Linked DNA regions of Homo sapiens: all the other regions are linked to region 1. The links are contacts of gene promoters, found by promoter capture Hi-C in blood cells and fetal thymus (Javierre and others, 2016). All regions are on one chromosome and are shown on one strand. Each heading gives the region's core, a stretch centred on a gene start or on the middle of the fragment in contact. The rest is flanking DNA. Distances are from core to core; before and after follow the strand shown. Region 1 holds the start of NEURL2 (neuralized E3 ubiquitin protein ligase 2). Region 2 overlaps TP53TG5 (TP53 target 5). Region 3 holds the start of SDC4 (syndecan 4).

The links. The method cuts DNA at HindIII sites, captures the fragments that hold promoters and counts their contacts. A CHiCAGO score of 5 or more calls a contact.
Region 2: a fragment that was not itself captured here is called in contact with the fragment with the promoter of NEURL2 in region 1 in 1 of 17 cell types (non-activated CD4 T cells); the score reaches 5.6 in non-activated CD4 T cells.
Region 3: a contact is called between the fragment with the promoter of SDC4 here and the fragment with the promoter of NEURL2 in region 1, in 3 of 17 cell types (M0 macrophages, M1 macrophages and endothelial precursors). The highest score is 6.9, in M0 macrophages.

The regions. Positions count from the first base shown.
Region 1 is chr20:45,889,140-45,892,457 of GRCh38, forward strand. It overlaps NEURL2 (neuralized E3 ubiquitin protein ligase 2), which reads right to left and starts at 2,069. Exons shown (of 2, transcript NM_080749.4): 1 at 1,111-2,069. The coding sequence starts at 1,852. CTSA (cathepsin A) reads left to right here and starts at 2,196. Exons shown (of 15, transcript NM_000308.4): 1 at 2,196-2,240; 2 at 2,430-2,623; 3 at 2,777-2,888; 4 at 3,134-3,184; 5 at 3,259-3,318. The coding sequence starts at 2,430. It also overlaps a transcript of SPATA25 not described here. RefSeq lists enhancers at 1,534-2,243, 2,483-2,532 and a silencer at 2,173-2,442. The HindIII fragment of the contact is 4,274 bases long and covers 1-3,318 here.
Region 2 is chr20:45,373,211-45,376,573 of GRCh38, forward strand. It overlaps TP53TG5 (TP53 target 5), which reads right to left. Exons shown (of 5, transcript NM_014477.3): 4 at 1,829-2,342; 5 at 1-801. The coding sequence ends at 697. The region is part of intron 3 of SYS1-DBNDD2 (SYS1-DBNDD2 readthrough (NMD candidate)); the gene reads left to right. It also overlaps a transcript of SYS1 not described here. Among named protein-coding and RNA genes, the nearest start is that of TP53TG5, 3.4 kb to the right of the region's middle. RefSeq lists an enhancer at 133-192. The HindIII fragment of the contact is 5,473 bases long and covers 1-3,363 here.
Region 3 is chr20:45,346,610-45,349,716 of GRCh38, forward strand. SDC4 (syndecan 4) reads right to left here and starts at 1,815. Exons shown (of 5, transcript NM_002999.4): 1 at 1,716-1,815. The coding sequence starts at 1,775. The HindIII fragment of the contact is 6,082 bases long and covers 1-3,107 here.

The DNA.
Region 1 (3,318 bases), core at 819-3,318:
TTTGCCTGTGCAACTGAAGCCTCCAGCACAGGCCTGGCACAAAGAGGGTTCTGGTGCATTGAGTTCATGAAATGTGATGAGAGGTATAACTGCAATGCTTACCAGGGCTATAATGAATCATACTCAGCATTAAGAAGCTCTCAGTCTGGGGTTTGTTATGCCTCGAAGCCAATAGCCAATATGCCCAAGTCTATGAGCATGTTTCTTTCTTTTCTTTCTTTTTTTTTTTTTATTTAAAGAGAGAGGGTCTTGCTCTGTCACCCAGGCTGAAGTGCAGTGCTCAGTGAACTGCAGCCTTCAATTCTTGGGCTCAAGCGATCCTCCTGCCTTAGCCTCCCAAATAGCTGGGACTACAGGCATGCACCACCATGCCCAGATAATTATTTAATTTTTTGTACAGATGGGGTCTCACTTTGTTGCCCAGGCTTGAGCTAGCTAGCTTGCTTGCTTGCTTGCTTTCTCTCTCTTCCTCTCTCTCTCTCTTTCTTTTTTTTTTCAGAGTCTTGCTCTGTTGCCTAGGCTGGAGTGCACTGGTGAGATCTCGGCTCATTGCAACCTCCACCTCTCGGGTTCAAGTGACTCTCCTGCCTCAGCCTTCTGAATAGCTGGGATTATTGGCACATGCCACCACACCCAGCTACTTTTTGTATTTTTAGTAGAGACAGGCTTTCACCATGTTGGCCAGGCTGGTCTCGAACTCCTGGCCTCAAGTGATCTGCCTGCCTCCCCCTCCCAAAGTGCTGGGATTACAGGTGTGAGCCACTGTGCCCGGCCAAGCATGTTTCTAAGAAAAGGGCAAACAATTCTCAAAGAGGCCCCTAATATCTAAAATTGGTTTAGAATCCCTGCCCTAGGTGAATACAGGAAACACTATCAAAACTAAAAGGGAACTTGTAGGGCATCTTAATCAATCAACCAAGATAGGTACCAAGGCCCAAAACCATGTAGAGGCTTGTGCAAGATCACAAGCAGAGGTGCAATTTGAAGCTAGATTCTCCCACTCTTAAACTAGTGCCGGACAGACGAAGGCCTAGCACATGGGCTACGGAGCCCTAGTAGATTCCAGTCCCCACACTGAGCCAGGAGGGGTCGCTGCCCAGGGATACCTACAGCCATACTCGAGCTGGACAAGGCGCACGCTCTTTGTGGAAGCAAACACGTCCACCACCGCGTAGAGGGGCTGCGCAGCTGGCAGTCCCCGGGCGCTCGGGCCCATGTCCTCGCCGTTGATGATGATGTGCATGTCGGCCGTGCCATCGGGGCGCGGGCAAAAGAGGACACCCAGGCGGCTACGGCGCGCGGTCGGAGGCAGCACGTTCAGCTCATAGAGCTGGTCCAAGAGATGGCTGTAGAGCCCTGGCCGGCTGCGGCCCACCAGGCGGTCCCGGGGAATGCGAAACTGCTCAATGCGCAGATATGGTTCCACGAGGAGGGTTGGAGGTCGGCTGGGGGCCGCTGCCTCCGCCTCCGGGCGGCCCTCCCGGGGCACGCGGTTGTGGTGGCGCGTGATGGCGAAGACCCAGGTGTGGCCCAGGTTGACCAGATCGGGCAGAGAAAACTCGGGAACGGGGGCCAGACTGGCGGGGTCCAGCGCGGTCAGACCGAGACGCAGATGTCCGCACCAGCCCAGCTCTTTCTCCTCGATCTCGACCAGGAAGACCTGGCCCGGGGCCAGCGGCTCGCGGCTGAAGCACACGCCGTGGGCGAAGCTCTCCACGCGTGTGGCCCGCGTCCCAGAGGGGTCCACGCGGATGTTGGCACCGTGCACCCGATGGAAGCGGGTGGGAGGGGGCTCCGGGCGCTCGAGTCCCCAGAGTGCACCCGAATCCACGGGCTCGGAGGCAGCAGCCATCTCTCGGCCATAGGGCAGGCCAGCTGGCGCCGGGGGCTATTTTGGGCGGCGGGCAATGATGGTGACCGCAAGGCGACCTTGTAAGGCATTTCCCCCCTGACTCCCTTCCCCGAGCCTCTGCCCGGGGGTCCTAGCGCCGCTTTCTCAGCCATCCCGCCTACAACTTAGCCGTCCACAACAGGATCATCTGATCGCGTGCGCCCGGGCTACGATCTGCGAGGCCCGCGGACCTTGACCCGGCATTGACCGCCACCGCCCCCCAGGTCCGTAGGGACCAAAGAAGGGGCGGGAGGAAGACTGTCACGTGGCGCCGGAGTTCACGTGACTCGTACACATGACTTCCAGTCCCCGGGCGCCTCCTGGAGAGCAAGGACGCGGGGGAGCAGAGGTGAGCTGGCACCGGAGGCTGGAGGGGATCCCCGAGCCCGGGATCGGTGCGCGGCAGAGGAGGCTCGCGGGTGGGAGCTGGCGCTGGGGCCGGGGCTTCCCTCGCGGAGGCGCCGCCAGCAACTCCCCGGGGGCTGCTGCACGGAAGCGCTGAGGAGCGAGTCAACAGCCCCTCTGCTGCCTCCCGTAGATGATCCGAGCCGCGCCGCCGCCGCTGTTCCTGCTGCTGCTGCTGCTGCTGCTGCTAGTGTCCTGGGCGTCCCGAGGCGAGGCAGCCCCCGACCAGGACGAGATCCAGCGCCTCCCCGGGCTGGCCAAGCAGCCGTCTTTCCGCCAGTACTCCGGCTACCTCAAAGGCTCCGGCTCCAAGCACCTCCACTACTGGTCTGCCGCCCTGCCTTCTGGGCGGGATTGGGAGAAGAGATGACGGATGAGGGATGGGGGGTAGTTCTGCAGACCCCTGAGGATGCCTGGGAGCCGGGAGGGCTGGAAAGGGCCCCTCCAACTGCGCCAACCCTGCCCTGACCCCCCTCCCAGGTTTGTGGAGTCCCAGAAGGATCCCGAGAACAGCCCTGTGGTGCTTTGGCTCAATGGGGGTCCCGGCTGCAGCTCACTAGATGGGCTCCTCACAGAGCATGGCCCCTTCCTGGTGAGTGGACAGCAGGGGGAAAGCACAGTTCCCAAAGTAAAAGGCTGGGGAAAGCGAGAGAGGGGCTTTGTGATTTTCCAAAAAGTTTCCTTCCTTCTAAGCCTCGGGATTTTCCTCTATGCCATTGGCTTTGCTGCCTGTACCTCTCAGAGGTTTTACCCACATGTAAAGTGCCTCTCATGGTGGCCCTTTCCCTCCACCCAGCTGGCCCTTGGGACTTACTCAGCCATCTCTTTCCTCCTCAGGTCCAGCCAGATGGTGTCACCCTGGAGTACAACCCCTATTCTTGGAATCTGGTATAGCTGGAGCTGTGGGTGTGTCTGGGCACTTGGATGGGGTGGCATTTAGCTAATTTTTCCCTCCCCTCTAGATTGCCAATGTGTTATACCTGGAGTCCCCAGCTGGGGTGGGCTTCTCCTACTCCGATGAC
Region 2 (3,363 bases), core at 176-2,675, 520 kb before region 1:
AGGGCTTGGGGTTGAGGTCTTCAGATTGAGGGTGGACCTGCCATGTCACCCTGGAGCAGTAGAGATGCAGTACCAGCTCCCCCTCCTGATCCGGTGCCTTCTGTGATCTGTGACCAAGGCAGGACACATTTGGAGGCCCAGCTGACATCCACTTTTTGACACCAGCCACAGTGCAATCAGTTTTTGACAATCAATTTTTGACAATCAGGTCGCAATGCACGCGCATGACCTACAGGGTGCTGGGGCTATTCCGCCTGCCTCGTGACTTCTGAGCAGGCTCTCATTTCGCCTTTTCCCTTTCTTGGGAAAATGGAATGGGGAGCAACCAGGAGCCCTTGCTCCTGCCACTTTCTAGCTGAGTGAGCCTGGGCAAGTTACTTGCTGCCTCCGCGCCGCGGTTTCCTCTTGCGAGCTCGCGGGGCGATTGTGAGGCACTTTGCACCCAGGAAGCACACGAGCGCCCTGACTTCACAGAGCGCGCCACTCAGGAGACTAGCTCGCGGAGGTGGGGGAGGGGTGCTGCTCGCTGGCTTCTTTGGTTCTAGACTGACCTTAGGGGCCTCGGGGTGGGGGTGGGGGAAGCCTGAAGTCGCGACACAGGCTCCCTCTACCGAAGGCCTCTTTCCTTCATCCTTCCCAGCCCCAGACAAACAGGCAGAGTAAGCAGTATTCGTCTTAGGTGCCATATGGAAGATCTTATTTGTAGACTCGTGAATTTCGCCACCCATTCCTCCCCTTCAGCTGATGGCGCGATCTCCACCCTCTGCTCGCACCTCTGGCTCTCGTCCAGGTCACATCAACCTGCCAGCAGAAACCTCGGTGTTAGGCGCTAAGACTGTCCCCAGGGGGCGCTGGTCGTTTGGGGAGCGGGCGCAGGGACAAGGGTGCTGTGGTGTCTGGTAGGTTGGAAATGCCTTTGCTAAAAAGGAAAAGCCTCCCTTTAAGCTAGACCCGGTGGGCACTCACCCCCTTCCTTTCGTGGGACTTTCATTCTCCCACGAAAGGGCTGCGGTATTTTCTTCTTTTTTTGCTAAGGAACTTTCTGCTCAGAGTAAATCTTTTTTTCCTTTCTTTTTTTTTAAGACAGGGTCTTGCTCTCTTGCCCAGGCTGGAGTGCAGTGGCGAAGTCACAGCTCACTGCAGCCTCGACTCCTGGGCTTAAGCGATCCTCCGACCTCAGCCTCCTGAGTAGCTGATACTACAAGCGCAAGGCACCACATCTGGCTAATTTTTAAATTTTTTGTAGAGACAGTGTCTCATTATGTTGCCCAGGATGGTCTTGAACTCCTGGCCTCAAGCAGTCTTCCTGCCTCGACCTCCCAAGGTGCTGGGATTACAGGCGTGAGCCACCATGCCTAGCCTGTTCAGAGTAAATCTTATTTGAGGCATGAATCAATCAAACATAAATAGAGAGTTGAATTGATCTTAGAGGGAATGGGATGCAGCAAAGCCCTACTTGACCATCTCCCCCCTCCCACATTTGGAAATCCTTAAACCCACTTATGTAGGCCTCTGACTGTGAGATTCAGAGCCACAGCAGTTTCCACCTCTGCTAAGGCCTTCAGGCAGTGAGATGGCTCACTTCAGTGCCCCTCCTTCCACACATCTCCTAGCTGTATCCTGAGACGCCTCAACCTAGTCACTACCCTTCTGTATGATGTTGGTCTAAGGCTTCCCCCTCTCTGGACATGAAGGCGGAGCCTCCCAGCACTACCAGCCACACACCACTCAAGACTCCAGATCCTGAACCCTGACTCTGGGGCCCAGCTCTGGGCCTGGCTTGGGGCTTGCATCTCACCTAGCCTGGCAGTGTTGTTGTCACACCCACCTTGTATGGATGCCACATAGGCATTTCAAGTGATGCGGAGCAGAAGCGGGTGCAGCGGCGCTTGACCCAACGCAGGGTGGAGGATCTGCACATCACCCTGGGCGCCGGGAGGTGGATTCGTGTGGGCAGCCCCTCAAACCAGATCCACTGGTCGGCTACATCCAGCTGCTTCATGTGCCCCATGGGAGTTCTATTGCGGTAGGGCTTAATGAAGATGACTCGGGGGCCCTCGGTGAGTGGTTGCCTCCCCTGGACTCCAGGGTTCAAGCTATCATCCCTCGATGTCCTTGGAACCTCAGGCTCTATATGCTTTTCTTTCCGTGGCATTGCCGCCAATGACGTTTTCTCCTTGTTCCTCATCCCTGACTGCACCTGGGACTTCCACTCCTTGTACTCTTTTTTCTTAGGGTCCCCTGTGGACTCTAATTTCTTGGACTTGAGTTCCTTCTCGGAGCACCCGATCTCCTGGAACTCTTCATTATTTTGTTTTGTTTTATTGCAGGCACTGTTTTCCCTGGCAGGGAGAGGAAAGGCAGTCAGCACAGCAGGACCGAGGCCCTGGTTCCCGAGACAGTTGCTATGTAGCCAGCTCAGGGGAGCCTGTTAAGAAAGGCTAGAGGGGCCTGCAAAGAAACTTCTCTACTGCCCAGAGGCCTTGTGCTGGTGTGAGGAGGTGTGATGAGCACTAGCAGAGGGATGTGAGAGATTGGGAAGGTGAAAGCCATGACTAGTAGTTAAGGCCCCTAAGAATGAATATTGTCTACATCATCTGCCACTAGATTAGGGTTCTGTCTCTCTGGACTTCAGCTGGGAGGGTGAACAGTCCAGTAGTTTTTCTAAATTGTGCTCCAAGAACCTTAGGGTTCTGAGGAGGTGTCTCAATGTCACCTCCCCTGACCCACTGGGGCAGGATACCTCTCCCCAGCTCATAACAACACAATTGGGGCTTGGAAATAGATATTTGAACAGAGGTTTCACTGCTTTAATAAAGTTGGAAAACTGTTCAAGACCAGCCTGGGCAACATGGTGAGACTCTGTCTCCATACAAAAAAAAAATTTTTAAGTTGGAAAATGATGGGGCTAGATGATCCTGATCCTTCTAGCTCTATGTTTCCTGATTGCCTGCGACTAGAGGCCAAATCAGAAAGAGGAGCCCAGAAAGGTGGCCTTGACAGAAATATTAAATGCTGAGACTTTCCCAAAGGGTGTCTGTAACAGACTGGGCCCCCTGCAAACCCCCAGTGGCAACACCATCCTAGCCAAGGGCGTGGAGAGAGATGAGGCCTTGGGCTGCAGATAATGGCAATACTGTGATGATAATAATGGCTCCCGCTGATTGAGTCCTCGCTCTATGCCAGACTCGGGACCCTTACAACTTGGGATCCTTACTATTTCTGTGAAGTAGAAGGCAGTGAAACAGAGTGGCTTACAGAGCACAGGTGTTGGATTCAGACAAACGGGCTCAGATTCTGCTTCTGCCTCTTACCACCTGTGTGATTTGGGCAAGATATTTAACCTCTCAGAGCCTTAGCTTC
Region 3 (3,107 bases), core at 565-3,064, 540 kb before region 1:
AGGTGGTATCCCTTCGGATGCTTCCCCAGTTGCTTGACCCGACACATCCTTCAGGGCCTAGTTTAGAGCACTGTGCTAGAGGCAGAAGGCTTGGGTCCTCAGCCACTAACATTTTAGGCAAGGTAGCCTTTGGTTTAGGTTAAGTCATCACCTCACTCTGGCCTTGTTTCCTTCCACCTCAGAATTCCTTTGCCTTCCAGCCTAAAATCTCAACCTATTCTAAACCCGTCTTTAGTTACCAACGATGGGACACCTGGAGTAGCACAAAGAGTAGAAGTTAAGCTAAAGCAGAAACTTGAAAGCCTGGCTGCCTAAATTTCAATCTGACTCACCCATTTATTGTGTATTAACTGTGTGACCCTGGGCAAGTTACTTAACCTCTCTAGCCTCAGGACCAGTTTAAGAACAGTACACAGTAAGATTGTTGTTGGAATTAAGCTCCTGGATATACCCATTAGAAAGTTATTAGAGCAATGTCTGGCCCCCCGACAAAGGCGCTCCACGTTTGCAATCATCATGGCATGCCTGGAATTGTGCTGGAAGTATTGCCTAGGGTCTCATTCATTCCTCAAGAAGAGCCTGCAGGCAGAATCAACCTTCCGCTAAGTAAATTCAGAGGAACAGGAGCCCCAAGGCTTTCAAAGAAATTAACATTAATGGTTAAACTGCAAGGACTCACTCGCTCTGAAAACTGGGGCTAAAGGGCACAAAGGGGGCACAAAGCTCAGGCTGTGGGGGACAGATTGCCTTCACCAGTAATTCCCATGCCCCCCAACTTCCCAGATGAGATTGCCCCCCTCCTCCTAAGCCGGCTGCGGGCATGGATAGAGCTTCTGCTGGCCCAGGGACAGCTATGACGGAGGCCAGTGGACAGTGAGAAGGAAAGGTTTCCCTGGGCTGATTGAGGCCTTCTCTCCCCCCTACCCCCTTCACCTCACTCAAGGTGGATGCTTCAATTTTCTTATCTGCAATTGAGAAAAAATGAACACACTTCTTGCAGAAAGCAGAGGCTCAGCTCCTGGCTAAGTGTTGAGTCTAAACCATTCCTCTCCTCTGTCCTCGAAAAGAGCAGAGTCCCCAACTTTCTAGAAACCCTAACGCAGTGTCCCCTCTTGCCCCATTCCCTCAGACCCTTGGTGCAGTATTGGGAAGAGATTCAGAAGGGCAGGACTTTGCCCTAAGTCACAAGTCAATGACAGAGCTGGGGCCAGAACTGAGGTTAGGGCTCAGTTCTCCTTGGTGTGTGAAAGAGGGCCTCGCACAACCCTAAAACCCTCCCCCTTCCGAGTACACGCAGCCCCCCGACCCCCAGGGCCATCTCGGATCCTAAAGCTGTCTGCTCTGGGCGCCCCGAGAGCGAGGAGGGGATTCAGCGCTCCAAGCCTGCCCCAGGGTCACCAGGGAAGGGACGAGGGTGTGGGAGTTGAAGAGTTGACACCGGCTTAGTCACTAACGAGCCCGTAGCCCGCGGCGGGGCTGAGGCCCGGGGAGGCGGGAAGAGCAACAGGCGAGGGGCGCACGGCGCGTGAAGCCATCCCGGAGGCTGGCCCGTGACCCCGGAGCAAAGTTTCCAACAAAGTTTCCCGGGCCTCGGTGTCCGGTTGGGGGTAGCGTACCCCCGATCTGCCCCCCCCCATCCCACGCTCCGACGAACAAAGGAGGCACCGGCCTGCGCCCCCGCTTCGCCCCCAGCCCGGGAACCTCCAAGCACCCACCGACTCGGCGACTCCGCCTACGAAGAACAGCAGCAGCGCGAACAGACGGGCGGGGGCCATGGCACCGCGGACTGGAGAAGGCGCGCAGGCTGCGGCGAGTGGCCCCGGGCGGGCGCGCCACCCATCTTATAGGCGGCCTACCGGCCCCGCCCCGGCCCGCCCCCGCCCCGCCGCCCGCACCCCGCCCGGAATTCCCCAGTGGAAGCGAGGCCTGCGGGGCACTGCGCCCGCCCGCGGAGTTGGAAACCCCAAGGGACCCGCCCTGCCCGAGCCCGCCGGCTCCTACTCAACCCCTAGTCCTACCCTCCGGGAGCTCCAACTCCCTTTATTTATTTGACCCACTGCCAGGCAGGTCCCCAGAGATCACTGCGGCTAACCCCATTTTATAGTTGGGGAAACTAAGGCCCAGGGACGGGAAGGACTTCCCTAGGGTGTTGAGTTTAGACCAGCCTTCATACCGGGTGTGCTCCCCTCTGAAGACACAGAACTTCCCAAATGGGATGTGAACCGTGTTAAGACAGGGGACAGCAAACTATTCTGTAAAGGGCTAAATATTTTAGGTTTTGCGGGCCATACGATCCCTGTGGCAACTATTCAAACTCGAGCGTCGTAGCTCAAAAGCAGCCATAAATACTAAAGGAATGAGGGCAGCTAGGTCCTAATAAAACATTATTTATAGACACCGACATTTGAATTTAATATAATTTTCATGTGTCACGAAATATTATTATTCTTTTGACTTTATTCCCAACCATTTAAACATGCAAAAATCGGCTGGGCTCTATGGCTCACGCCTGTAATCCCAGCACTTTGGGAGGCCGAGGAATAGGAGGATCCCTTGAGCCCAGGAATTGGAGACCAGCCTGGGCAACCATAATGAGACCCCCATCTCTACAAAAAGTTTTTAAAGAAATTAACCAGGCATTGTGGTGCACCCCTGTGGCCCAGCTACTCTGGAGGCTGAGGTGGGAGGACTGCTTGAGCCAGAGAGGTGAAAGTTGCAGTGAGCCATGATCGCTCACTGCACTCCAGCCTGGGTGACCGAGTGAGACCCTGTCTCAAAAATAAATAAATAAATAAATAAATAAATAAATAAATAAATAAATGACATTTTATAATAAAAATGCAGGCCGGATGCAGTGAGTCATGCCTGTAATCCCAGCACTTTGGGAGGCTGAGGCGGCGGATCACTTGAGCTCAGGAGTTTGAGACCAGCCTGGCCAACATGCTGAAACCCCGTCTCTACAAAATACAAAAATTATCCAGGCATGGTTGCCTGCGCCTGTAATCCCAACTGCTCTGGAGGCTGAGGCAGGAGAATCGTTTGAACCCGAGGGGCGGAGGTTGCAGTGAACTGAGATCTCCCCACTGCACTCCAGCCTGGGCAACAGA